2 separate regions of the Homo sapiens genome follow, and region 2 is linked to region 1. Evidence: promoter capture Hi-C in human tissues and cell types (Jung and others, 2019). All regions are on one chromosome and are shown on one strand. The core of a region is centred on a gene start or on the middle of the fragment in contact, and the rest is flanking DNA. Distances in the headings are between cores, read along the strand shown. Region 1 holds the start of CRABP1 (cellular retinoic acid binding protein 1). Region 2 overlaps SKIC8 (SKI8 subunit of superkiller complex).

Region 1 (6,707 bases), core at 1,860-4,359:
TCTCAGCAGCGGGAGCAGGGACAACAATGAGCATTGAAAAATAATTGCTCTGCAGAGAATCAACACATGGTCCCTGTCAGCAGGCCACAGATTCTTCTCCGCTGAGCCTTATAAAGTCCAAATTCAGAGTGCTGGTCACAGATTTTATGGGGTATAAATACACCTTGTATAACACACACACACACTCACAAGCACACACAAACAATCTCTTACTGAAGCAGCGAGGCCTTAGGCATGCTTTACATCTCTAGGAATAAAATTTAGAGCATGAAATGATTCATTTATATAAAAATTAGCTAACCCTTCAAACAATTTGGATTTTATTTATTTTTATTCATTTTTTTTTTGAGATGGAGTCTCGCTCTGTTGCCCAGGCTGGAGTGCAGTGGCACAATCTTGGCTCCTTACAACCTCCACCTCCCAGGTTCAAGCAATTCTCCTGTCTCAGCCTCCTGAGTAGCTGGGATGACAGGTGCCTGCCACCACGCCCAGCTAATTTTTTTGGTATATTTAGTACAGATGGGGTTTCACCAGGCTGGTCTCGAACTCCTGACCTCAGGTGAACATAATTTGGATTTTAAAAGCAAGAACCTTCACATCAGAACCACAAGATTTGACAACAGTTAAGACACCAAGTTTGTAACCACATCTGTCATCAGCCTATCAGGAGCACGATTCCCTGCATGGATTTTGGGATAGGAACGTCCTTTCTGTTCACTCCTCATCAGATTTAGTGCACCCCTGCACTGATAAACCTCGGTGTCTTTGGCTCTGAGGGTTAAAATGCTGCCACTTTCCCGGTTACATCCCTTTAGAAAAAATTTAAAAAGCAAATCAATCTGAAGGCTCTTCATGCTTTTGGAGGTGGGAGGCAAAAGGAGGGATTTCCTGAAGTTTTTCCCCAGTGTCTGCACAAAGCTAAGTGTGGTACAGCTGGGCTGGGGGGTGGGCCAGAGCTGAATGTGCACATAATCAGTTTTTAACTAACACATGGGACACATTCATTAGGCAAGGTGTGGGGGGATGGGGGGTGCATAAAGCCCCACTCTCCCGGCTGTTGTGTGAACCTTTAATTTTTTTTTTTTAAATCAGAATTACCCTTCCTGGCAGTAGCCAACATTGGATGTCCCCAGACTGAGCCCTGCCTATTGCCAAGCCTCCTCTCTTAGACTCCCAGCCCTTCACTCTATGCTGTCCTGCTCTTTGTTTCTGCAGTGCAGTTTAGGCTTCAGATCCCACCCCCTCCAAGCGTGGAGATCATTTCCAGGCTATGACAATTCTGGAGCCAAAGATTGCCTCCTAGATCAGCCTGCTTCTGGGGGGCTTTGTTTCTTTGTCCTTCCAAGCCCGGTGCTCAGAGAGTCCCATTCCGAGATCAGACCAGGCACTGCTCAGGAAAGGTGAAAGAAACAATTTCCCACTCTCTGGAATGTTACGACTTTTTTCTTTAAAAAAAAAAAATTGGAGAAGGGGAGGGAGACATTCTGTCACTTTTTAAATAAGTGGTAGCACCGGTGATTATTTTTCCATCTGGTTAACCAAATGCAATTTTTGCCCATGCAAAAAACGAATGTACAACCCCTTGCTTCAATCCACCGGTTCATCCCTGGGCCGATGCATGGAGAAATAAAAAAAAACTCTTGCCCTTGAGGACTAAGAGAGGGCAACTAGTCCATTTTCCCAGCCAGAACCTGCCTTGCTTTTGGAAAGACTCCGCCGTTCCTTTAAGGAACCAGGCCGAAGGCGGGAAGGGAGAGGTGACGGGGCCATCGGGACTGCTAAAACTGTATCCAGAGCGTACCCAGGCGGCCCAGGGACCCGGGCGGGCGCGGGGGATACGGCGGGAAAGGAATGCAAGAGCTGCGGCTTCACCTGCGACAGAGAACCTGGCGGCTCCTGCAACCTCCTCCTCCTCCTGCGCCGCCTGCGCTTGGCGCTGCAAACCGCTGCAAAAGCCACTGCTGGGAACGCGGCGCAACCCAGAGCCCGCTCTTTAAGCGCGGCTGTTAGCACCCCGGGAGGCAGCGTAGGGATGGGGTTGAGATGGAATGAAGGTAATACTTTGTCTTGAGCCAGGGGCAACTAGGATGCACAAACCCCCTCTGCAAACAGCCAGTGTACACACCCTGCAAGGAAGGCGCGCCACAGGCTGCAAAGGGAGACACAGGTTCCTCCAGCAGCAGTGGGCCATGGGCACCGAGCGGGGACACGGGGACGCTGTAGTGGCTCTGGGGCCTCACCCTGCACTTGCGTCCGTCCACGGTCTCCTCCTCAAAGCCTTCTCCGACCTTGAAGTTGATCTCAGTGGTGCGCACCGTGGTGGATGTCTTGATGTAGAACTGATCCCCGTCCTGGCGGATCTCCACGTGCGGCTTGGACGCAGCCGCTACGGCCACTTTCCTCAGCATGGCGTTCACACCTGCGCAGGGTGCACCACAGGCTTGGGTCACGGGGCCTCGCCGCCAGTCTCGGGACCGGTCGGGCACTGGTCATACCCTAACTTTAGAAAGGGGCCTTAAAATTGATCCACTCGTTTCCCTGCCCTCGCCCTTGTTTTCGAGATGAGAGACTGAGGCACAGAGAGGGTAAGTGACTTTCCTCGAGTTGCACAGTGAATTCGTGGCAGAGCCTGGTCCCAAATTTGAGTCTCCAAATTTAAGTCCCTGATCCTCCTTGCTCTCCAGTAATCTCTCCTCGCTATGATCTAGCACGAGATAAAGTCCGCACCATCGAGGAGGGCGCCAAACATTCAGCAAACGTTCGCTGAACGCGTGGGTTCCGGGATCTCTACCAGCTTCTCCGAGACCCGGTGCGCCTGGGAGACAAGGCGATCTATTGCCCCGGGGACTCCCTCCTGCCTGGGCTCCCCAACTTCCACCCCCTCCAGGACCGGGGCACTTCCGGGACCAGGGCACCTCCGGGCCGCATCTCCCCGTCGGGGCGCGCCCTCTGCACCAGCTTACCCAGTGCCTTGAGCAGCTCGTCGAAATTCTCGCTGCTGCGCATCTTCCAGGTGCCGGCGAAGTTGGGCATGGTGGCGGTGGCGGCGGCGGCAGGTACGGACAGCGGCGGCGCAGCGGGCACACTCTGAGCTCGCAAGGCGGAGACTGGCGCTTTGCGCCCAGCGCTGCGCGCCTTGAGTCACTAGGAGAGCGCCCCCAACCCCGCCGGGCTTCTGGCCCCGCCCCGCCGGCCCTGCCCCCGCTCCCCCGCAGCCCCTACTCGGTATGCGCTCAACTCCCAGCCCAGTTGTGCCTCAGCCTCCAGAGGTGCGGGCACCCGCTCTCCAACTGGGGAGCCTCCACCTCCCTCAGGACACCCACATCCCGCTTTAAAATGGGTGGTGGGAGAGGGTTAGCTGAAACAAGATGGGCTTGGAGGGGATAACTGTTGAAGCTGGGCGGTGTGGACTTGGGTTATGATTCTACTTTTCTCTCTACTTTTGAATATGTTTGAAAATATCCATAACATAAACTTAAAGTGGATAGCGAGCGGGGCCATCAGGGGATGGGACCCACTCTTTTTTCACCTCCGGTCGTACCTACTGGGTGTGCCCAGATGGTGTCCCTTCCCTCCCAGTCCGGGATCCTATTCTGAAACCCTCTCCCCGCATCCCCACGCCCCCCACAGGACCCATGGGGAGTGAGTGGCAGGAAACCGCAACCCCCATCAACACCAGCTTGGGCACTGAGGCGCGAATCCACGAGCTGCGGGTCCTCCGCGTTCCGAGTGCAGGAGGGGGCCAGACCTTTGTCAGGGCTCAGGACAAACTGTGGGTCGAGAGGCATGGACTGAATCAGCTCCAGAATCTGGGCTAGGTGCGGCCTGTTTTGCAAAAGCGTGAGGCTTTGCACTCTTCGGGCAGGCTGTGAGGGCCAAGGGGAGGAAGTCTTCTCCCTTTGCTCCCAAATAACCTAAACATCACGACCTAAAGTCCCCTCGGTGTTTCCACTAAGGGAGTACAAACACTTCACTATTACCCTTGTAGCTCTTCTCTGTACATTTTCCTTCCAGCTTTTTCCCACTATTTTACCATCTGCACACCTCAGCCAAACTGTACAATTCAGGATTCTAGAACGTGCCATGCATTTTATTATCTCTAAGTTTTTGCCCATGCCATGGCTTCTTCCTTGAATGCCCCTTTCCTCATCGGGTTAATCAAATCTTGCCCATTCACGAAAGCCCATCTTTATGCTCTCTCTTTTGTGAAATTCAGTTTCCTAATAAACTGTGATTATTTTTCTCTGAATTGACAGGATTCTTGTCCGGTCCTGCTCTTGTTCAAGTCTTCGCTCTGCTATAAACTGAACTCCTGGAGGGCAGTGATCGTTTATCCACTTGTCCTCCCTTCCTAAGGCTTAGCCAGGTGGGGCTCGATAACTGTGCATTGATTTGAGGAGGATGTGAGTGGTGGCCTGGGGTGAAGATTCCCCCAGGACCTTGGGGAATCTGTGCTGAGTGCCTACTGAACAGGGCCCTGGAAACTTCTGGAGGTGGCTGGGGCTGGGTTGCTGCCAGGAGGCTCCGAGGATCTGTCTAAGAAAGCAGCTGAGGACAGGAGAGGGGAGTGGGGCCATCACCAGCTGGAAAGGGGCATGGGCAGGGCCGGCATTCTGGACGTGCCGTCTGTGCAGTCACACAGGGCCATGCACTTAGAAGGGCCTGATAGTTAGATTGGAAAATGGAAAAGCAGGAATGCTCTGCTATTGCCAGCTTGAACGTCAGAATACTTTTTGTTTGTTTGTTTGTTTTGAGACAGAGTCTCGCTCTGTTGCCCGAGCTGGAGTGCAGTGGCGCAATCTTGGCTCACTGCAACCTCTGCCTCCTGGGTTTAAATGATTCTCCTGGCTCAGCCTCCCAAGTAGCTGGGACTACAGGTGTGTGCTACTATGCCCAGCTAATTTTTTGTATTTTTAGTAGAGACAGGGTTTCACTGTGTTAGCCAGGATAGTCTCGATCTCCTGACCTCGTGATCCGCCCTCCTCGGCCTCCCAAAGTGCTGGGATTACAGGCATGAGCCACCGTGCCTGGCCCCATAATACTTTTTGAACAAGGAGTCCTGAATTTTTATTTTGCACTGGGATCTGCAAATTAAGTAGCAGGTCCTGGATGTGGGAGGCAAGGGATGGAGCTGCCATAGAATCAAACCCACTTCACAGAGGGTTGAGTGCCTCTCCAGTGAAGGGGCAAAACAGGAGTGCCATCCAGCTAATGCAGGCCTCTGCCCCCATCCAACACTCTTCCCTAAGAAGGCTTCAGCCATCTAAAGGGCAGGGCTGGGGAGGGACTGGGGCAGGAGGCTGGAGGAGGGCAGCAATGTTGGAGCAGCATCCTAGTTTACAGCCCAGAGAGACCTTGTGAGGATAGTCAGAGGGCCGTGGATGAGGCACAAAGGTGACAGAGAGCTCTTGCAGCAAAGGCATTGGATGGACAAAGAGGGAAGAGGGAAAGAAGAAGGTGAGGGAGGGAGTCAGAGAGAGAATGGGGCAAGAGGGGCCAGATGAAGGTGTCCACTCCAAAAGTTGGCCATACTGGGACAGGACAGTGGTGTCGTTCTGCAGGCACAAAACAAGGGCGGGAGCAGGGTCCAGGAGTGAGGAGGGCACAGCCAGTTCAGCCATAGAGTGGAAGATGATCCCAGAGTCCTTGTGAGCCCACTCTCCTTGTTTTTAAGACAGGGTCTGGCTCTGTCGCCAGTGCTGGAGTGCCCTGGTGCCATCTTGGGTCACTGTAACCTTGCCTCCCGGGCTCAAGCAATCCTCCTGCCTCAGCCTCCCAAGTAGCTGGGATTACAGGCATGCACCACCGTGCCTGGCTAATTTTTGTATTTTTAGTAGAGACAGGGGTTTGCCATGTTGCCCAGGATGGTCTCGAACTCCTGAGCTCAACCAGTTTGTCCACCTCAGCCTCCCAAAGTGCTAGGATTACAGGCATGAGCACCCAGCCTGCTGTCCTTGTTAATGGAAGTTTAGAGGTGACCAGAGCAGACAGGAGGGGCCAGGACTTCTCAGAAGACCCAAATCTCATCAGGTGGCACATGGAAATGGGAGGGCAGGCTGCTATCACCTTCCTGGCTACTGGGGAAACCCCAGAGTCAAGAGGGCCACAAAAACACCACCACCATGGCTGGGCACGGTGGCTCACACCTGTAATCCCAGCACTTAGGGAGGCTGAGGCAGGCGAATCACCTGAGGTCAGGAGTTCGAGATCAGCCTGGCCAACATGGTGAAAACCCATCTCTACTAAAAATACAAAATTAGTCGAACATGGTGGTGCGCCCCTGTAGTCCCAGCTACTCAGGAAGCTGAGTGAGGAGGATCACTTGAACCCAGGAGTCCCAGGTTGTAGTGAGCAGAGATCGCACCACTGCACTCCAGCCTGGGCAACAGAGTGAGATTCCGTCTCAAAAAGAAACAAACAAACCAACAAATAAACAAACAAAGAAAGCCACCACCATCGTGGTGTTTCTGTGGATCCAGAGCAGGCCCCCTGCTGGGCAGAGACCCGGCTCTTGGCCCGGGTCTTCAAACAGATGGGCAGAACCACCTGAAATGCTCTGACCTCCCTGTCTTCTCTCCTTCTCTTCTTTTACCCTTCCATTCGCTAACCTTTGCTGACCATCTCTGTGAGCCAGGAACTGGGTGCACCTCTGAGGATAGTGACCACTCAAGATCCAGGTCCTGTCTTGAAGGTTCACTGTTTACACA
Region 2 (6,707 bases), core at 1,254-3,753, 50 kb after region 1:
AGATGCAGGACCTGGTAAGAGTTTTACTTGTAGGGGAGATAATAGAGGTTCATGATTTCTTTTCCAAAATCTTTAGGGATAGAATGTGTTTTACAGCTCAGAATTTTTTGGATTTGAGAGGGGTGATAATGTGTGCATGAACTGTATTTCACATAATACCCTCAGTGGGGCTGGAAACAGCACTGTAATGAAAGACTAATACCTCTGCAAGTAAACATGAATGTTTACACTAAGGGAGATAAATAAAGGCTATAAATAGCCTTATGTCAATTCAGGTTAGATTTTGCTGCCAAATGAATTTTGGTAGTAAACCTGTAGAAAAAGCTTGTAGTTTCCAGAGCTTTTTGGATTTCAAAACTGCTGGTTTGGCGTTGACCTGTATTTTGCATTTTCCAGAGGTTCTTTATTTGCCATATTCTGAACTGATTCATTCACTGCCTTACGGAAACCTAGAATGTAAAGCATGGGGTCCTTATAGATCTGTATCATGGTCATCTCTACTAATTTTGATTAAAGGGTGTGATTCTTGGTATGTGATACATATGAAACTTTTAAGAAACATCAATTTTTTTTGTTTTAAGTACTGTAGAACAGCATAATCTTGTCCATCAGCCTCAGTAAACATCATCTGAGATGACAGAAATTAATGATGTCATAGGCTGACTAATGTGGAGCAGCAGAGGACATTTCAGGATTCTTTTGAACTTCACATTTACTTATAAATGGCTGCACAACATTCCCCAGCAGAACCTGCTCTGCCAGAATGGGTGGTAACTGCTAGAGGGTGCAGATAGCCTGGCATTTCTCTGGCACACCCCTTTTTGGGTTGATGATAGAAGAGCTGCTTAGGTGTTCCATGAACACAGTTCCCTTGATTGGTGCCCTGGATGGATTCGCCTCCCGCCAGTTATGCTCAGTAGCCACTCTAGGCTGTTCCTGTATTGGAAAGAATGATGGTCCCAGAGTTTTTAAAGAGGCTGGGTTGTCTGGAAACTGAGTGCATTTTCCCTCAGAAGCAATATTTCTTGTCTGTAATTCTTACCACTGGAGCTCTTTTAAGAATATGCCTGCCCAGTCCATATTTTGGATCCACTGAATCATAGTGTTCAGAGTACGTGGGGTGGGATATGTATTTGGAAAAAGCTACCCAGACGCACCCTGACTCCCCTGATGGTTGTCTTTACATGTACCCTTACCCTGCTTACATTACTTACAGAGGACTTGGGTCCCCAAACTATCCTGCAAAGTCTATTAAGACTCCAATATATAAGCATGGTCTTAAGAAAAGAGGAAGAGACAGAACTGTTTCTACCTTTTCATCTTGGGCGCCTAAGCTTTCCCTGGGCTCATAATGCTGGTGTTATTCCATGCTGGTTGTAGCCCTGGGCACAAGGCAGCTGAAGAAATCAGTGCTGGATTGGTTCCAAGTAAAAGGATGGCGTATGTATCTAGCTCACTTTCTCTGATAAACAGTACCTTTTACTGGATATTCTCCAAGTGTGGCAAAGTTTTAAAGGTTACTGTTATGAAAGAAAAAGAAGAGGCCAGGTGTGGTGGCTCACACCTGTAATCCCAACACTTTGTGGGGCTGAGGCGGGTGGATTACTTGAGGTCAGGAATTCAAGATCAGCCTGACCAATATGGTGAAACCCTGTCTCTACTAAAAAATACAAAAAATTAGCTGGACATGGTTGTGTGCACCTGTAGTCCCAGCTACTCAGGAAGCTGAGGCAAGAGAATAGCTTGAACTCGAGATTATGCCACCGTACTCCAGCCTAGGTGACAGAGCAAGACTCAATCTCAAAAAAAAAAAGGAAGAATGGGGTCTGAGAGTTGGATTTATTTTCTTTTTGGATAGGACTCTGCATAAAACTAGACCAGGCCATTAAACAGCCAACAGTTATTTGGTCCAGTAACAAAAGCAAGCATTGCTATTGACAGCTAAAGAGCAGCTAAATTCATCTGAAGGTAAAACTCCTTGGATGAATTTGGGTCTAATGAATGTAGGGAAAATAGACACTTAGTTTCTACCTATCTTGAAAATATGCATGGAGAATCTGAACCACCACACAGGAAGAGAAAAAGAGAAGAGAGACAATCCCCAGTCGTGGAGAAGTAAGGAAGTAGGAGGAAGCGAAGACCATGAGTGTACCAGTCTTTGTGTGGACATATGTTTTCATTAGGAGTAGAATTGCTGAGTATCATGGTAAGTGTTTGTTTTCACTTAAGAAACTGTCAAACTGGTTTTCAAAGTGGCTGTGCCGTTTTACATTCCCACCAGTGTATGAAGGCTCTGGTTTCTCCACATCCTTGCTAACACTTGATATTGTCCTATTTTAATTAAAAATTTAAGAAACCCTTAAACTAAATTTAAACTTGATAAAGAATTAGCATCTTTACAACATAATTTTCTGAATCAGGACACTGCTACTCCGATTTAAAAAGATGTATCCTTTGGTAAAACTTTAGTTTTTAAAATTAAGGCCAAGTCTTTTCACACTGTATTTTTGTCCTTCTTTTTTCTGTTCAGTGGATGCCTGGACTTTGGCCTTTTCTCCTGATTCCCAGTATCTGGCCACAGGAACTCATGTCGGGAAAGTGAACATTTTTGGTGTGGAAAGTGGGAAAAAGGAATATTCTTTGGACACGAGAGGAAAATTCATTCTTAGTATTGCATATGTAAGGAAACATTGCTCTCTGTTCTCCTTCTGATTCTTTCAGTTTACCCTTCCAGCCTGTTGCAGTCCTTGCCACAGATTCTGTCTTGGTCTGGTCAGGCAGCTGCTGTCTCACTGGTGTGGTTTGCCAAGTAGCCAGTTAGACCTGTAGATAGCAGGAGGTTTGCTTGTGTTTGGTAGGGACAGCTTAACAACACGGAGTCTGAAAGTGCTAATTTCTCCATATGTTCTCTGAACAGAGTCCTGATGGGAAATACCTAGCCAGTGGAGCCATAGATGGAATCATCAATATTTTTGATATTGCAACTGGAAAACTTCTGCATACCCTGGAAGGTATATATCATCATCTTATTTTGACAAACTGGGTTATCAAATCACAAAGGAAGAATTATTCTTTCATTGAAATGCCATTAAATGGCAAATGGGCATTAGATTTACAAAATATCAATCTCAATTGGAAAACTGAAATGCCTCCAGGTTTTAGTCTTGTCACTATAGTTTTTTTTGTTTTTTTGTTTTTTTGTTTGTTTGTTTGTTTTCTTTTAGAGACAGGGTCTCGCTCCCAGGCTGGAGTGCAGTGGTGTGATCATAGCTCACTGTAACCTTGAACTCCTGGGCTCAAGGGATCGTCCCACCTCAGCCTCCTGGGTAGCTGGGACTACAGGTGCACACCACGATGTCTGGCTAGTTTTTAAAATTTTTGAGGAGATGGGGTCTTGCTGTTTCCCAGACTGGTCTCTAACTCCTGGCTTCAAGATTTCTTCCTGCTTTGGCCTCCCAAAGTGCTGGGATTACAGACATGAGCCACCATACCTGGCCTGTCACTATAGATTTAACCTAGACATACTAGTTCTTGTAACAGTGTTAAGTGCTTGTTTGGGTGAACAGACTTACTTTTTATTTATTATATCGTAATCTATCACATTATGTATGTGTGTGTTAATATATATTTGCTATATGAATGTCTCATTTCTGTTATTTTGGATTCTGATGAACTTTGTGATTGGAAACAACTTTTTGTTGATAATTTGAAGGTGGATGAAAGTATTGTGCCCACTGTCCACACCGGTGGCCTCTGGAAAGGAGGACTGGGTAGCTAAAGAACAGGGGTAGGTTGGAGGGAGACTTTATTATGCGTACTGTTGTGCTGTTTTGAATTCTAATCAAGTGAATTTATTACGTCCTCACATTGCTATAGTTTATCCTTTATACTATAATAAAGGATTTGATAGGGAAATAATACCTTAATTTGTTCAACCTTACAAATCAGGAGCAATGTATATATCCTTGTGTGGCCATATTTGTAGTAGAAAAGTTATTTAAAGCAATGTATGCTGAGGGCAGGGAAGGGAACTAAGGAGAAATGGCTCTGGGAGGAGATACTGGGGTTATGTGGATGTTTTGAGAACATTAAGAGGAAAGGCCCAATCAGAACTCTTGCTTTTCTGCCTGAAGCACCTGAGCATTTCAACTCAGTGGCTCATAATCATTAAAAGGGGCATTGTCAGTGGGAAGCTGAGTGAGGAGGCAGTGGTTCACCAGATTAACAAGGGCCTTTATGAATTTCAGGCCATGCCATGCCCATTCGCTCCTTGACCTTTTCCCCGGACTCCCAGCTCCTTGTCACTGCTTCAGATGATGGCTACATCAAGATCTATGATGTGTAAGTTACCTTAAAGGCATCTCCCTTACTACTGATGCCCATCTTGTCCCTTTATTGTTACAAGGAGCCCTAGGGAGGAGCCCTAGTAAAGACCTGTGCTCAAGTCACATCAGACACCTTGACTCCCCAGGCGGTCCTCCCCCGTTCAGCGCCCATTTTTAGTGTGTGTCCTCAAGGGCTGCTTGGAGGAGGATGTGCATGGGTTCCCTGGTAGGATCAGATACTTGCTACTTTTTCTCAGGCAGCCTGATTTTTGTGAGCTTACTGATTTCAAATTCTTTGGGATAGGTAAGTAATATACAGATGAGGAAATGGAGCCATGGGCTGTAGCTGGCCCCTGGGGACAGGAAGAAATTAGAGCATCCATTTTCAAGGGTAGGGCTGTTCTAGCAGACATGCCTCTGCCCTAGTTAGGGAGCAGTCAGTTTATAAGCCGCCCTGCTACAGGCCTAGATGGGAGCGTTTTTGGTTTTGGCCCTTGACTGCGAGTATAGAAGCAAGTTAATCATCCTCTTTCATTCACAGCCGTCATTGTAAATCTGTGCGGACCCCTATGTCTTCTTCTTTTCCCCCATCATTTTTAGTCCTGACTCCTATTCCCCACTGAGGTATCCCCTGTAATGTGTTGGATCTGTGTTCTTGATACTATGACTCGGTGCTATGGTCAGCTCTCACTGCCAGGCATGCCTCTGGCTCATTGCTCCCGAACATGGCATTCTAATCCACTGCATGTACATATCACACTCCAACCTTAGCCATGGGTGCCAAGACCTCCTCCACCTGCATGTACTGCAACCCTGACCATCCATGTGTGTCCTTTCAGGGGCCTGTGATAGTTGCTTGGGAGTTTAAACCTCACAGTAGAAACACTGCTCCTTCTAGCCCACTTCTGGTTAAAATGCAGTTTTTTCTGGCAAAAGGTTATCAGCTAGACATAGAATTCTAACTGCAGTTTTTAACTGTAACTGAGTGAGGGTGCTGTAGCCCAGAGGGGAAGATGTCTCTATAGAGTTATACTTGCCTGTTAGTGGCAGAGGCAGTATAAATGCAGCAGTTCCTTACATTTGTGACTTTATGATTTCTATTGCCACTGTTTTATTGATCCTCCCAGCAACCAATGAGGTAGCAGCACAGATTAGTGTCCCCATTTTGCACATGAGAAACCCAAGCTGAGGTGGTTGATTTGCCCAAGGAGGTGGTACTGAATGAAGACCCAAGAATGTTTTTTTCACCCAATATTGATGCATTATTATTAATTAAAGTCTGTAGTTTACATTAGGGTTTACTCTTTGTGTTGTACATTCTATGAGTTTTGACAAAATTATGTGTAGCCACCCCTAACTACAGTGTCACGCAGAATAGTTTCACTGCCCTAAAAATCCCCTGCTCTACCAAATCATCCCTTCCTCCTGCCTTGAGCCCCTATCAACTACTGATCTTTTTACTAAGGCCCAGGACTTTTTACCCTCCCATGGTCCCACTGTATCCCACCTGCCCCCTAGCCCCTAACTGAGGTCTGCTCCACTCTGCTGAGGTCTGTGTTTAGGGGTAAAATTGCTGACCTCAGTTAGGTCTTATGGTGGTTCTCCTGCCAGAGGTGGTTGGGTTTCATTTTTATTAAAAAAGTGAAAATAGCTGTTGTAATTAGACCTGTCTTGTTCTTGATTAGGTTTAAACTGGTCTCTCCAAGCTGCATCTGTCATAATGAATACATCTTGACACTTTCCTTGGACTGGGAGCACTGGCCCCATACGGAAAGGCTGCTGGTGCAGGCAGGAGTCTGAACCTGCCCTTCTCCTCAGATGGCTTCCTTGCCCCGTTGGTTCTCAATTTCCTCATCTGAGGGGTTGGCTTGCGAAGCCTCTGTAGTGTGGTTCTTTGTTCATTTTGAGCTTCAGCTCTTTGCTTGTGAAGGATTTTATTCTTGGCTTTTGGTGGTGTCAACACATTATGGGTTAATGCTACTATTAAAATTTGTCTCTAATGCATGAAGCTACTTCATTGAAAGAGGAATTTTTGATATAGTATTCATGGTCATTATAAGGATAGCAGATTTGGTCCAGCTTATTGGCAGAGTTAATAATATACTTTCCACTTCAGTGATTATACTGTAGAAATTAACATCTCAATTTTGTTTGAAACTTTCCCATTTCAGACAACATGCCAATTTGGCTGGCACGCTGAGCGGCCATGCCTCCTGGGTGCTGAACGTTGCATTCTGTCCTGATGACACTCACTTTGTTTCCAGGTACTTAATGATTCTTAGCAGTTTCTAAAATGCTGGGGAGATGAGAGCAGTCTTCTTGTATAGATTGCCTTAACATTTAAAGATGTTTGACCCTTTTTTATTCAGTTAGCCTTTCTTT

Evidence for each region. The method cuts DNA at HindIII sites, captures the fragments that hold promoters and counts their contacts. A contact is called where the count stands out against the background at its distance.
Region 2: a contact is called between a fragment that was not itself captured here and the fragment with the promoter of CRABP1 in region 1, in 1 of the 25 tissues and cell types used here (adrenal gland).

The regions. Positions count from the first base shown.
Region 1 is chr15:78,336,755-78,343,461 of GRCh38, reverse strand. CRABP1 (cellular retinoic acid binding protein 1) reads right to left here and starts at 3,109. Exons shown (of 4, transcript NM_004378.3): 1 at 2,964-3,109; 2 at 2,241-2,419. The coding sequence starts at 3,033. RefSeq lists an enhancer at 2,931-3,559. The HindIII fragment of the contact is 13,960 bases long and covers 1-6,707 here.
Region 2 is chr15:78,285,923-78,292,629 of GRCh38, reverse strand. SKIC8 (SKI8 subunit of superkiller complex) reads left to right here. Exons shown (of 11, transcript NM_025234.3): 5 at 1-14; 6 at 2,531-2,679; 7 at 2,918-3,011; 8 at 4,248-4,341; 9 at 6,497-6,589. Among named protein-coding and RNA genes, the nearest start is that of SKIC8, 10 kb to the left of the region's middle. RefSeq lists a silencer at 4,262-4,506. The HindIII fragment of the contact is 3,347 bases long and covers 830-4,176 here.